Regions from separate parts of the Homo sapiens genome. Here regions 2, 3, 4 and 5 are each linked to region 1. The links are contacts of gene promoters, found by promoter capture Hi-C in blood cells and fetal thymus (Javierre and others, 2016). All regions are on one chromosome and are shown on one strand. The core of a region is centred on a gene start or on the middle of the fragment in contact, and the rest is flanking DNA. Distances in the headings are between cores, read along the strand shown. Region 1 holds the start of SMYD4 (SET and MYND domain containing 4). Region 2 overlaps TSR1 (TSR1 ribosome maturation factor). Region 3 overlaps SRR (serine racemase). Region 4 overlaps SMG6 (SMG6 nonsense mediated mRNA decay factor). Region 5 holds the start of CRK (CRK proto-oncogene, adaptor protein).

What was found. Contacts are between HindIII fragments. The CHiCAGO score rates a contact against its expected background, and 5 or more counts as called.
Region 2: a contact is called between a fragment that was not itself captured here and the fragment with the promoter of SMYD4 in region 1, in 1 of 17 cell types (total CD8 T cells). The highest score is 5.4, in total CD8 T cells.
Region 3: a fragment that was not itself captured here is called in contact with the fragment with the promoter of SMYD4 in region 1 in 2 of 17 cell types (M1 macrophages and M2 macrophages); the score reaches 5.2 in M1 macrophages.
Region 4: a contact is called between a fragment that was not itself captured here and the fragment with the promoter of SMYD4 in region 1, in 2 of 17 cell types (M2 macrophages and naive CD4 T cells). The highest score is 7.0, in M2 macrophages.
Region 5: a contact is called between the fragment with the promoter of CRK here and the fragment with the promoter of SMYD4 in region 1, in 1 of 17 cell types (neutrophils). The highest score is 8.1, in neutrophils.

Annotation. Positions count from the first base shown.
Region 1 is chr17:1,828,571-1,831,260 of GRCh38, forward strand. SMYD4 (SET and MYND domain containing 4) reads right to left here and starts at 1,332. Exons shown (of 11, transcript NM_052928.3): 1 at 1,156-1,332. It overlaps RPA1 (replication protein A1), which reads left to right and starts at 1,435. Exons shown (of 17, transcript NM_002945.5): 1 at 1,435-1,556. The coding sequence starts at 1,524. RefSeq lists a silencer at 1,184-1,703 and an enhancer at 2,331-2,690. The HindIII fragment of the contact is 18,459 bases long and covers 1-2,690 here.
Region 2 is chr17:2,331,376-2,334,065 of GRCh38, forward strand. It overlaps TSR1 (TSR1 ribosome maturation factor), which reads right to left. Exons shown (of 15, transcript NM_018128.5): 6 at 2,182-2,341; 7 at 1,586-1,749; 8 at 794-984. Among named protein-coding and RNA genes, the nearest start is that of SNORD91A, 2.4 kb to the left of the region's middle. The HindIII fragment of the contact is 2,823 bases long and covers 1-2,690 here.
Region 3 is chr17:2,315,380-2,318,069 of GRCh38, forward strand. SRR (serine racemase) reads left to right here. Exons shown (of 8, transcript NM_021947.3): 2 at 178-349; 3 at 2,491-2,617. The coding sequence starts at 182. Among named protein-coding and RNA genes, the nearest start is that of SNORD91B, 12 kb to the right of the region's middle. The HindIII fragment of the contact is 2,533 bases long and covers 1-2,517 here.
Region 4 is chr17:2,259,712-2,262,401 of GRCh38, forward strand. All of the region lies in intron 8 of SMG6 (SMG6 nonsense mediated mRNA decay factor), which reads right to left. Among named protein-coding and RNA genes, the nearest start is that of SMG6, 43 kb to the right of the region's middle. RefSeq lists an enhancer at 5-134. The HindIII fragment of the contact is 2,389 bases long and covers 152-2,540 here.
Region 5 is chr17:1,454,913-1,457,602 of GRCh38, forward strand. It overlaps CRK (CRK proto-oncogene, adaptor protein), which reads right to left and starts at 1,320. Exons shown (of 3, transcript NM_016823.4): 1 at 965-1,320. The coding sequence starts at 1,205. RefSeq lists an enhancer at 489-1,474 and silencers at 739-868, 979-1,038, 1,129-1,628. The HindIII fragment of the contact is 20,688 bases long and covers 1-2,690 here.

The sequences.
Region 1 (2,690 bases), core at 82-2,581:
ATAGCTACCATCTGTGCTCTTAGATCCTCTTTTTTTTTTTTTTGTGAGGCAGAGTCTTGCTCTGTCACCCAGGCTGGAGTGCAGTGGCACCATCTCGGCTCACTGCACCCTCCGCCTCCCAGGTTCAAGCAATTCTCCTGCCTCAGCCTCCGAGTAGCTGGGATTACAGATGCGCGCAACTACGCCCGGCTAATTTTTGTATTTTTAGTAGAGACGGGGTTTCACCATGTTGGCCAGGCTGGTCTCGAACTCCTGACCTCAGATGATCCGCCAGCCTTGGCCTCCCAAAGCGCTGGGATTACAGGCGTGAGCCACCGCGCCCGGCCTGATCCCTCTCTAGTTTCTCTGAGACACATCCCAGATTTTTCTTTCTCACCCACCCCAGCAACTATTCATTTAACAAGGTATTTCCCTCTCTTACATAGTTCAGCGTTCTGATTAAGTCCTCACCATCTCGTCTGGCATTCTTCCTAGAGTGTTATAATTAATGTCCATGCCATTGGCACCACTCCCCACTTTCAATCCAGCCTCCAACACTGAGACAGAAGTCAGTGCTCTGCCCTTAAATTCATCAACGCTACTCCAAGCATACCAGGAAGCCCAGGACAAAACCATCCTTACTTGACCCTTGTCTGACTTTCTAATTCTCAGGTGTCACTTACTCCTCTGCATGCACCCTTGCATACTGAACAACTCATTGCTATCCCCGGCTTGCCAGGCTATTTCAACTCTCCAATGTTTTGGCATAGGCTACTCATGCTTTCCGGACCAACCCTACCCTGGCTTATGGAGTCCACCTGGAAAATTCCCACACGTTCTTCGACTCGGCTCAAATGGCACCTCCTCCGGGACGGCGTCCCTGATTTCCCAGCTGTGATTCCAACACCCTTGGGGCCTGTACCACGTCTACCTGGAGGTGGGGTTACTGACGGCATAAAGTGCCCCCACACACTGTCCTCTTCTCTAAGGACGGGGGCCGGGTCTGATTCCCTTTCGGAGACCCCCCACCCCCACCCCCCACCGCCACGGTGCCAAGCTCAGGGCTTGGAGGCGGGAAGTCAGCCCCGCGTTGCTGGACGAATCGGGTCACTACTGCGACTCTATTTAGCAGCGGAGGTCTCAAGGAACAGCTTTAACCTCCTCTGGGATACCAACCCGTGCACTCGCCAGAGACCGAGGCGAGAACGCCTCGAGAACCGCTCAGACGCGCCCGGAACTGCGCCCTGGTCTCCCTCCCAGCGCCCGCGCAGCTCCTGGCGCGCCCCTTGGCGCCCCGCTCCGCCCCGCACCGCGTCCGGCGTCCCGCGCCAGGCCTCGCTTGGGACCATGGGTGGGTCACGTGGGCCGCGCCTCGGCCAATGCGGCGGCTGCGTAGCGCCCGGGCCCGCCCCTGAGCCGCGCGCACGTCGGGGGCGGGAGCGGTGCGCGCAACTTCTCGGGCCAATAACTGCGCAGCGCGCGGGACCCGGGTGGGGAAGCTGGAGCTGTTGCGGGGTCCGCGGGGAAGTCTTGGCGGTGGAGCCATGGTCGGCCAACTGAGCGAGGGGGCCATTGCGGTGAGGAGGTGCCGGGGGCTGGGCCGGCGGTCCGGGGTGGCTGCGGCCCCGAGCCTCGCGGAGTAGAGAGGGGGAGGGGAGCCCGGGGCGACGGGGGATGAACGCGAGGGGAGGAGATGGCGGGGGGCGGTGGGGACCCGCCGGGCGTCCCTCTAGTGTCATCGCCCCCTCCTCAAAGCATTCTTTCGATCGTCTTTAAAACATGCTCACATTTTTCCTACGTAAGAACAAACTAAATAAACGCTTGCCTTTCTCTGCATCTTCCACCTGCGGACACTTTCTGTCTCTTCTCCTTTCCCCACCCACAGCCAAACTTCTTGTCTGGTTTCAGCCACTTCCTTTCCTCGCCTTTCATCAACTCTTTAACCCACTCCAGTCATCCCTTTGATCGCTGTAGAAAACCCTGGCTGAAGGTACCAGTGGCCTCCAAGTTGCTAAATCCAGCCCTTTTCCGTTTTCAGCTTACCTGAGTTCTCAGCAGCGTTTGCGTTTAAGCCCTGCTTGCTTCAGGTCACACCCTCTTCCTTGGTTTTTAGTGGCTCAGCTTGGCAGGTCTATCCCCGTCTTATTTGTAAGTCCCTCTTTGTAAATTTTTGTTGAATCAAGGCTCCCTCTAGGCCCTCTTGACTCCCGAGGCAATTTCTTTTTTTTTCTCCAGCCTGGGCGACACTCACTGTCGCCCAGGCTGGAGTGCAGAGGCGCGATCTCGGCTCACTGCAACCTCCGTCTCCCGGGTGCAAGTGAGTCTCCTGTCTCAGCCTCCCGAGTAGCTGGGACTACATGTGTGCGCCACCACACTCGGCTACTTTTTGTGTTTTTATTAGAGACTGGGTTTCATCATGTTGGCCAGGCTGATCTCGAACACCAGACCTCAAGTTATCCGCCCGCCTCGGCCTCCCAAAATGCTGGAATTACAGGCATGAACCACCGCGCCTGGCCCCAAGGCAATTCCATTGCCATCTATTAATATATGTCAGTTGCTCACAAATTTCTTTGTACAGAGCCACCTTTACTCTAAAAGACAAACTTCCGTCATCTGTCTGCTTATTCCATGCTTCAGAGGGTTTTAAGTTCAGTATACGTATCCCAAAGCAAATTCTTTATCTTTCTAAGTCTGGGCCTCTTGATCCCTAT
Region 2 (2,690 bases), core at 87-2,586, 500 kb after region 1:
ACTGAAATACAATCCCCAGTGTTGGAGGTGGAGCCTGGTGGGAGGTGACTGCATTAGGGGAGAGGTTTTCTCATGAGTGGGTTAGCACCACCCTCCTTGTTGAGTGAGTTCTCATGAGATCTAGTTGTTTAAAGTGTGTAGCACCTCCTGCCTTGCTCTCGTTACTGCGCTGGCCGTGTGACATGACTTGCTCCCCCTCCACCTTCTGCCATGATTGTAAGTTTCTTGAGGACACCCCCAGAAGCTGAGCAGATGCCAACACCATGCTTCCTGTACAGTCTGCAGGACCATGACCCAATTAAATCTCTTTTCTTTATAAATTATGCAGTCTCTGGTACTTCTTTATAGCCATGCGAGAATGGCCTAATACATAGCCTTACCTCCTAATATCCAAAATTAATTCACTGGCTTTAGTCACTCACCTCCAGAACAGATATAATCATCTACTTCTTCACTCTTCTACTTCTGCTATTCTACCCAAACCCCCTAAAATTTCCAAACATTATATACTTCAATTGAGTACTGGCTCCTTTGGGAAGAAGTATTTGCTAATTAACCTTAGTATTTCCCCTTCATTCAAGTCCTGTAACGTGAGTCTGCACCACAGTCTAGAACTTAATTACATATGACCATTTCCCGTATGTATGTCCTGCCTTCCCATATTAAATGTTAGCTCTTCAGGAGCAGAAAAAATGTGTTTTTCTTCTTTTGCATCACAGTGACACAGCTCTGAGCCAAGTTTTTAAAAACGTATTGACTGAATTTAGATTTGTTGATAGACTTGTTGACTAACCGAATTCGAGCAGCCACATCACGGGGCGTGTCCACTTCATCTGGAAACATCTCTTCCAGTCTTTCTTGTTTATATTTCTCCAACATTTTTGCCTCAGCTTCTTCATCTACTTTCTTATCATACAGATCATCATGCACAGACTCCCCAATAGTCATAGTTTCATATTCTTCCTCTTCTTCACTACTCTCATCCTGTAGAATAGGATTACAGTTTTTTCAGAAGAAATCCACACCTGTCTCTACCCCAAAGGCCAATAAGCTAAGAGTAAAATAATTGTACTAGATCCCTATTCCCAACCAACATAAATTCTAATACAGTCTAAAGTATAAAACAAAAGCCTCATTCCTGGCAACTACAGAGTCATTCCTAAGAAACTAACCATACACGGCCGGGTGCGGTGGCTCACGCCTGTAATCCCAGCACTTTGGGAGGCCAAGGCAGGCGGATCATGAGGTCAGGAGATTGAGACCATCCTGGCTAACACAGTGAAACCCCGTCTCTACTAAAAATACAAAAAAATTAGCCAGGCATGGTGGTGGGCGCCTGTAGTCCCAGCTACTCAGGAGGCTGAGGCAGGAGAATGGCGTGAACCCAGGAGGGAGAGCTTGCAGTGAGCCCAGATCGCACCACTGCACTCCAGCCTGAGCAACAGAGCAAGACTCCGTCTCATAAAAAAAAAATAAAAAAAATAAAAAAAAGAAACTAACCACACACACCCATCAAGATCACACCTGCACTTTGCCTTACATTTGGAGCTAGACACAGAATTGGCCTAAGGCCTCATTTCCTTACCTGAGATTCCTCCTCCATAAAATCCTCATGTTCCATATCATCATATTCATATTCATCTCCTTCCCCACCACTTTGGCTGCCACCATCCAAAATCCATTCAGCTTGGTAACTGGATGTTCCTTTGGGGACCTTCTTTACCACCTTAGAACTTTCCTTCAAGAAATCTGTAAAAGCCCAAACAAATTAAGTAAATTACAGACTTCTTTTCCCTATCCCTCTGGTTATTCTCACCTAGGCAAGGCACCAGATACTGCTGCCAACATGGGAAATTCTGGCAGACACTGTAAATAGAACTACTTCCAAATTTAATTCAGCTGCCTCACAACTAGCAATACTTACACAGCTAAATAAGCCCTGCAATGAATCCAAAGTTGTTTATCTGTTCATGATAAAACATTAACACAAGTAATTTTGAGAAATGGAACAAGACTGTGTATAATGTTTGTTTATTGAAAACATACAGCATTTGAGGGTGAGGAGAGACTTTCAACTATACCCCCACCCCACTCTATCCTATAGGGCCCTCACTTGGAACAGCTACAGAAAATCCACAATTCCAGGTCAGATGAATTACAGACAAGTTTACCAATACTGACCCTTTGCCTCGCTCAGCTCCTCCTCAGTGGGCCAGGTTTGCTCTCCCTCCATTGGATCTGGGATAACCTCTGCTTGCAAGGATTCCTGTCTACCAGGGTCTGCCTTCATTAGGACTTTAAGACCTTCTTCCATATCATCTACAGCATCCGTAGCACAAATCTGAAAACCAAAAGCAGGTGATAGTCAACCATGAACCAAAAATCTCCTAAATCTAACACAGTAACCAGAAAGACCCAGAAATATCAGTCCTCATGTATAAGATGAGTGCGACAGAATGCTAAAACTTGTCAAAACTTTTCCAATGGCTGTTTTCTAATTTCCAGGGTATTTTAAGTCTCTGCTTGGCTCTTGAGGTCTTTCTTAATCTGCTCCCACTCCTATCCATTTATTACGTACCTCACTCCCATCAAGCTGATTTCTTCAAGGTTCACATAAACCCTTTGATCCACCACTGTGCCTAGGTTCATTCTGTCTCTTATCTTCTAGGATATTCTTTTATCCCTCTTCA
Region 3 (2,690 bases), core at 1-2,500, 490 kb after region 1:
CTTCGTTCAGCTTTTAAGTCAACTCTCTTTTAGGGAAATTCTGACACTCCAATAATGGAGAATTTCCACATGACACCACAGGCCCCAGGTCTATTCTGTTACGTATTTTCAAAATCTCTTCAATAAACATACTGTCTCAGACTTTGCTTTGACCCCTTTCTTATTCCTGGGTTTCAGAACCATGTGTGCTCAGTATTGCATCTCCTTTGCTGATGTTGAAAAAGCTCATATCAACATTCGAGATTCTATCCACCTCACACCAGTGCTAACAAGCTCCATTTTGAATCAACTAACAGGGCGCAATCTTTTCTTCAAATGTGAACTCTTCCAGAAAACAGGATCTTTTAAGGTAACAATCCTTTTTCTCAGTGTATCATGTATGTTTTCACACCCTTTCACATATCAGTTTGATTCTCCTGACCACCCAATGAGATAGGCAGAAGTAAATTAATGCCTTTATACAGCTGGAAAAAAGGTTACAGAAATTTTCCTTTCAAGTCCTTGTTTTACCTAGCATCATAGTGTTGATAAGCAACTTTTACACAGTCATAAATCCTTATAATTAGGATAATATATATAACTTATCCGAGTAATTTTTATATATATGTATGTGCATATATATAATATATACATAAAATACAGTCATATGCCACATAACGTTTCAGTCAATGACAGACCACCTATATGATGGTGGTCCTTGGTCCCATAAGGTTATACCACACATTTACTGTACGATTTCTGTGTTTAGATACAGAAATACTTCTCATTGTGTTATAGCTGCCTACAGTATTCAGTACAGTAACATGCTATACAGGGTTTGCAGCCTAGGAGTAATAGGCTGTAACAGCTGGATTTGTATAAGTACACTCTATGGTGCATGCAAGATGATGAAATTGCCAAATCATGCATTTCTCGAAACATATCCCCATCCTTAAGCAAAGCATGACTTTATTATATATACCATCACTTACTGTCCAAACTAAGACATAATTTATTATCCAAACTAGGACATGTTTGGGACTGAAAGAAGCAACCTGAAATATCTAAACAGACACCTGAACTGTTGCAGGCAAATTGGAAAGTGTTATCACTCTGTATATGACCCAAGTTTAAGCATTCACTGTATCAACTTGCTACACATGGATACATTATCAATATAAAAGATCTAAGCCTGGGCCACACGGCAAAACTCTGTCTACAAAAAATACAAATATATGACAGGCGCAGTGGTTCACACTTGTAATCCCAGCACTTTGGGAGGCTGAGGCAGGTGGATCACCTGAGGTCAGGAGTTCGACACCAGCCTGACCAACATGATGAAACGCTTTTTTGTTTTGTTTTGTTTTGTTTTGAGACGGAGTCTCACTCTGTCCCCCAGGCTGGAGTGCAGTGGCACGATCTCGGCTCACTGTAAGCTCCACCTCCCAGGTTCACGCCATTCTCCTGCCTCAGCCACCCGATTACCTGGGACTACAGGCGCCTGCCACCACGCCCAGCTAATTTTTTTTTTTTTTTTTTTGAATTTTTAGTAGAGACAGGGTTTCACCGTGTTAGCCAGGATGTTCTTGATCTGACCTTGTGATCCGCCCGCCTCTGCCTCCCAAAGTGCTGGGATTACTGGCATGAGTCACCGCACCCAGCCTTGGTGAAACACTTTCTACTAAAAATACAAAATGAGCGGGACTTGGTGCCAGGCACCTGTAATCCCAGCTGCTTGGGAGGCTGAGGCAGGAGAATTGCTTGAACCCAGAAGGCAGAGGTTGCAGTGAGTTGAGATCACGCCATTGCACTCCACCATGGGTGATAGAGGAAGACTCCATCTCGGGGGAAAAAAAAAAAAAAAAAAAAAAGGCCGGGTGCGGTGGCTCACGCCTGTAATCCCAGCACTTTGGGAGGCTGAGGCAGGCGGATAACGAGGTCAAAAGATCGAGACCATCCTGGCTAACACGGGGAAACCCCGTCGCTACTAAAAATACAAAAAAATTAGCCGGGCGTGGTGGCGGGCGCCTGCAGACCCGGCTACTCGAGAAGCTGAGGCAGGAGAATGGCGTGAACCCGGGAGGCGGAGCTTGCAGTGAGCCGAGATCGCGCCACTGCACTGCAGCCCGGGCTACAACAGAGCGAGACTAGGTCTAAAAAAATAAAAAAAAAAAATTTAGCCGGGCATGGTGGCAGGTGCCTATAATCCCAGCTACTTGGGAGGCTGAGGCAGGAAAATCACTTGAACCCGGCCCTGGGGGTAGACGCAGTGTGGGGAGGCGGACGTTGCAGTAAGCCGAGATCGTGGCACTGCACTCCAGCCGGGATAACGGAGACTCCATCTCAAAAAAATAAAAAATAAAGATGCACATGAGATATTTAAGAGGTAAATCGATAAGATTTGGTGACAGATTGGATGTGCATGTTAAGGATAGAAAATCTAGAAAAGCTCCTTGCTTTCCAAAACAATGTTTTAATCAAATATGTGAATTCACCATCCCTCTTTTTCAGATTCGTGGTGCTCTCAATGCCGTCAGAAGCTTGGTTCCTGATGCTTTAGAAAGGAAGCCGAAAGCTGTTGTTACTCACAGCAGTGGAAACCATGGCCAGGCTCTCACCTATGCTGCCAAATTGGAAGGTACTTGATTTCTCAAGGTACTGGGTAGATCTTCAGAAAGGAGTGGAAAAGTGCCCTTAATTTCAGTGAGAGT
Region 4 (2,690 bases), core at 96-2,595, 430 kb after region 1:
GCATTCGCACACTAATAAAGGGACTGTGCACAGTCCAGAAAAATATTTGAAAATATAACCTCTCTACCTACCTAACGCCATACAGGAAAACCCCTGAATCTCTCAGGAAAGGGAGGAGCACGAACTAATCTAAGAACCCAAAGGAGAACGAAGCTTCAGTTTAAGATAGATGTGGTCACAAAGACGGTTTCACAAACCACTCTGCTGTGGTTATTTGCCATAAAGCAAATAACCAGCACACAGGGAGCTTTGGCTACCTTGTGCGAGCTTCAGATTTAAGCAAGGCACCAAATAAGGGAAGGATTCTGGCGCATCAACTCCCAGGAAAAGTGTTTCAAGTTAAAAATGGTCATTCAGGTTTGGATGTGAACTTCTGTATCTGCTCTTTATCAACAGAGGCAACTCTACCTCCCTGGCAGCTAGCAGCAGAAAAAGAAGAAAACTGTTAGAATACAAATGGATTACACAAAGACAACAACATGGCCTGCTACAGCCTGGCATTCGCCTTGACACTAAAAACAAGGCTAGAAACACGCATTGCAGATCTTCTGGGATTCCACATCTGAGCTGAACCAAGCATGTCCAGGAGAAGGCAGGCCATGATGTCACTTTCCCCCCCCACAGCCAGATGCTTCAAGATGAAGGCTGTAAACCACAGCACTGTTGGTGAGAGACTCAGTTTCACTGTGACTGGAGGCAAGGCCTGCTTCCAGCTAGTTTTTTTGGTCAATCAAATCTTTTCTGTGCTGGTTCCCAGACCCAAACTCTGTAGTTCAAAAGTCAAAGCAAACACCTCAAATCTTTTATCTTTGATCCAATTCTTTATCTTCCAAATTCTCTCTTCGTCCTCTGTCTCTGAACAATGAAAATCAATCTTAACAAGGATCCACAAAGCAAGGAAAACATGGGCATTAACTTCTTCCTAATTTATTTAAAATGCTCTGTCACTGCTATCATTAAACGTATAGAAAAAAATTTGAGTTTAGAGTTAAAAGGGAAGAGGCCGGGCGCAGTGGCTCATGCCTGTAATCCCAGCACTTTGGGAGGCCGAGGTGGGTGGATCACCTGAGGTCAGGAGTTTGAGACCAGCCTGGCCAAAAATGGCAAAACCCTGTCTCTACTGAAAATACAAAAATTAGCTGGGTGTGATGGCGGGTGCCTGTAATCCCAGCTACTTGAGAGGCTGAGGCAGAAGAATCACTTGAACCCGGGAGGCGGAGGTTGCAGTGAGACGAGATCATGCCATTCCACTCCAGCCTGGGCAACAGGGCAAGACTCTATCTCAAAAATATATTTAAGAAAAAAGAAAAAAAAGTCGGGCGCGGTGGCTCACGCCTGTAATCCCAGCACTTTGGGAGGCCCAGGAGGGCAGATCACGAGGTCAGGAGATCGAGACCATCCTGGCTAACACAGTGAAACCCTTTCTCTACTAAAAATACAAAAAAAAAAAAAATTAGCCAGGTGTGGTGGCGAGCACCTGTAGTCCCAGCTACTCAGGAGGCTGAGGCAGGAGAATCACTTGAACCCGGGAGGCGGAGCTTGCAGTGAGCCAAGATCGCACCACTGCATTCTAGCCTGGGTGACAGAGCGAGACTCCGTCTCAAAAAAAAAAAAAGGGAAGAGAAGAATGACAGCGATACAAGTAAATAAACTGCTGGTTATACAAGTATGCTTACATTGTCACAATTTATCACCTGTATGGCTCTGTTATGTGCACTTTTCTGTGTATATATATTTTTGGAAGATTTCTTTTAACTCTGCAATAATTTTTTAAATTGCCACAACTTTTTCTACTAGTCCACAAAAAGCCTTTGTTTCACAGCCAATAAATACCCTTTGCCCCATATGTCCTAATCCCCACCATTATTCTAACTCTGAGGTGGTAGACATGCAGATGACTGGTGCTATAATAAACAACTTTCTGCTACCCCTCGGTGGACAAAGCTGTGCAGATGTGTTGATGGTGTATGCTATATCCCCAGTGTACGGATGTAAAGACAAGGAAAGAGATTAAAAAATCTGTTCATGCAAACAAAAAGAAATTTAGGAATGCAACCCATAAGATCTCACTCCTGGTCTGCAGTGACCACAAGTGACAGCTTCCTAGGAGCACGAAGGGCACTATTAGTGCCTTATTCAACCTTTTGACATATGTCACTTGCAAGTATTTCAAAAGCCATAGAGTTTTATAGATCTGTCCAGAAGTCTAAAGGAAAACCTGCCAAAGACATTCCTCAGAAGAGAATGTCAAATGTGTTAACATAGTTTGCTTGACAAATTAGGACCTAGCATCTCAGAGATTTGTGGCACAAGTAAACTCAAAATCTCAATAGCAAGAATAAGGTTTTAGCATCTTTATCAAGAAAAAAAATCCCAGAAAAATGTAAATCCATAGCGAGTATTATCACAATTCCTCTTTCCCATACGCATCAGGAGCTGCAGTCCTACTGTGTGTGTGAAAGTCAAGAATAGGACTTAGTGCCAATGATTACAACACAAAGCATAACTTATTCCTAAGCCAAGCTGGGCTTGGCTCAGAAAGCTTCCCAGAATGATGGAAGGCATGACTTTAGAGTGAGTCAACCTTTGCTAATACATAAAATAAAGCAGAGAAAGAACTATTTGAAGGATTCACTTCTAAGCTTGAGCCAAATCAAAAGCTCAAATCTATCTACATTGTGATGAATCTT
Region 5 (2,690 bases), core at 70-2,569, 370 kb before region 1:
CCCAGCGCAGGTAATTTATGTTCTTGGCGTAGAGTCTGTTCCCAATATCCAGGAAGACTCAGCCCGCAGCCCCATCTTACTGAGCAAGGTGACGCCCTGAAGTACACACCGACAATGTTTAAGTCCAAGGAAAATGAAGTTCCAGTCACTTACAGGGAAGGGTCTGTTTCCATTGCCTCACTTCTGGTTTATTTTGTGGAATAAAATGTCTTTCCTCCACTAAACACTTTGAAAACCAGAACTCTCTAACGGCGGACAGTCTTCTGGACGCTTAGATCTCTTGCACATAGCCAGGCATCGCCTTAAACTGGGTTGGGCTGGTCACTGAAGGCTTTCTGCTACCACTATTTCTTCTAGCACTTAGTTCACCACCTTCGTCCTCCACGGGGGAAGAGAACGGTACAAAGATTTTGGAAAAATGCCCAAGAAAGGAAAAAATTGACCGGTTTCCTGAGGGTGTCTCCATCCCTCCCGGCCAGTATGTGGTGACTTCCTACCAAAGGCCACCAGGGGAGCACGGCCAAACCCGGCTCTCCAACACGGCAGGAAACGTTTCCAGCCTAAAAGCCACTTGTAGGATTATCGGATTCATTCTGGGCGCCGCTGCCAAGTGATGCCCCCGCAGTGCCAACATCTCCCTCAGCTCTTTGTCCCCACGTTGCCTTGCCCTGCCCTACCCTTGCGCCTGGCCCGGGAGCCAGCCCCACCCTGGGGCCGAAGCAGTTCCCCTTCCCCGCGGCTGCCCTCCCCAGGCACACCCCGGGGCCTCGGTCCGCGGCTCCTCCTCCCCCACACTCCTGCTCCCCGGGTGAGAGCGAGCCCGAGCAGCCGGCGGGCCCCTGCCACGGTCACCCAGCCCTCTGCCCACGACCCCCGAGGGTCCGCTCTCGAGGACCAGCCAGCCAGGCTGGGAGTTCCGCGGCCCTCACCCCGCCCAGGGCCCGCCGTCCCGTCAGTCCCTCACCGGGCGGAGGCTGGGCGGGCGACGGTGGCACCGGCGGGCGCGGGCCGCTGCTGTTGATGATGTAGTGGGAGACGCGCGAGTTCTCTGAGACGCTGAGCACATAGTCCCCGGGGCTGGTGCTCGAGTCCCGCACCAGGAACACCCCGTGCCGCTGGCCCTGCAGCAGCGCCACCGCCTCCTGCCGACTCAACCTCCCCCAGTACCAGCTACTCCGCTCCTCCGAGTCGAAGTTGCCCGCCATGGCTGCCTCCGCGCCTAAACGCTGGGGTGCCGCCGCCGCGCGCGCCCCTCCGGCCCCCGGCGCCCGCCGCCCAGCGGACCGGCTCCGGTTTCAGCTTCACAGCAGCGCCCGAAATGGCGGCGGCAGCCGCGGGCCTCCCCCTCCGGAAATGACGCGCTCCCTGCCCGAGGGAGGCTGCCGGGAAGGGGCCCGCGGCCCGCCATTGGGAGAAGGGCAAGGCGCCCTCGCGCGCGCACTGCGCATGCGGATTCATGGGCGGTGCCGCCCTTCCCGGGCCCGGGCTGCGGGGGATGGGAGGCGGGGTCTAGGGCCCGAGGGGCGGGGCCTCGCAGCCTCCCGCAGAGACGCGCGCCTGCGCTGCGGACAGAGCGGTGCTTCTCGTCTGGGCCCCGGTTCCTGGACGACCTGGGACTTCTAGGCAGCGACTCCCAGACAGAATTGGAGGAGAAAAGATGCGTGTGGCCCTGGGGCCTGAGTTCTCGGCCAGGCTTCCTGCGATATCAGTCTGTTTCTTTTTTCTTTTTCTTTTTGAGACGGAGTCTTGTTCTGTCGCCCACGCTGGAGTGCAATGGCGCGATCTCGGCTCACTGCTCCCGGGTTCAAGCGATTCTCCTGCGTCAGCCTCCCGAGTAGCTGAGACTACAGGCGTGAGCCACCGCGCCCGGCTGTTTTTTGTATTTTTAGTAGAGACGGGGGTTTCACCATGTCGGCCAGGATGGTCTCAATCTCCTGACCTCAGGTGATCCGCCCGCCTCGGCCTCCCAAAGTGCTGGGATTACAGGCGAGAAACATCGCGCCCGGCCACGTCGGTCCGTTTCTGCTCGTTCCTCTAGCTTCTCCACAGACCAGCTGACGTTCTCATTTTCATTGATTCACCTAGGACATTGTTGTTGACACTCCACTTGCACTGCGGGTGCAAAGGTTATCATGGCTGGGCCCTGCACTCCTCGAACTCACAGACCAGTGAGAGGAACCAGGAAACTGGATGACAAAAGGATGACAAATGCTGACAAACGCTATCATGGGAAACGGACATGAACACAGAGCAGAGCCCCCACAGCCAGTCTATGGAGTAATCCAGGAGGGCTTCCCAGAGGAGGCAGCATGTGTTGACTGCTGAATGACAAATGGGGAAGGACATTCTTTCTTTTTTTTTTTTTTTTTTTTTTGAGATGGAGTCTCGCTCTGTCGCCCAGGCTGGAGTGCCTGGGCGTGATCTCGGCTCACTGCAAGCTCCGCCTCCCGGGTTCACGCCATTCTCCTGCCTCAGCCTCCCGAGTTGCTGGGACTGCAGGCACCCGCCACCACGCCCGGCTAACTTTTTGTATTTTTAGTAGAGATGGGGTTTCACCGTGTTAGCCAGGCTGGTCTCGATCTCCTGACCTTGAGATCCGCCCACCTCGGCCTCCCAAAGTGCTGGGATTACAGGCGTGAGCCACCGCACTCGGCGGGGAAGGACATTCAAAGCAAAGGGAGCAGAGTGTA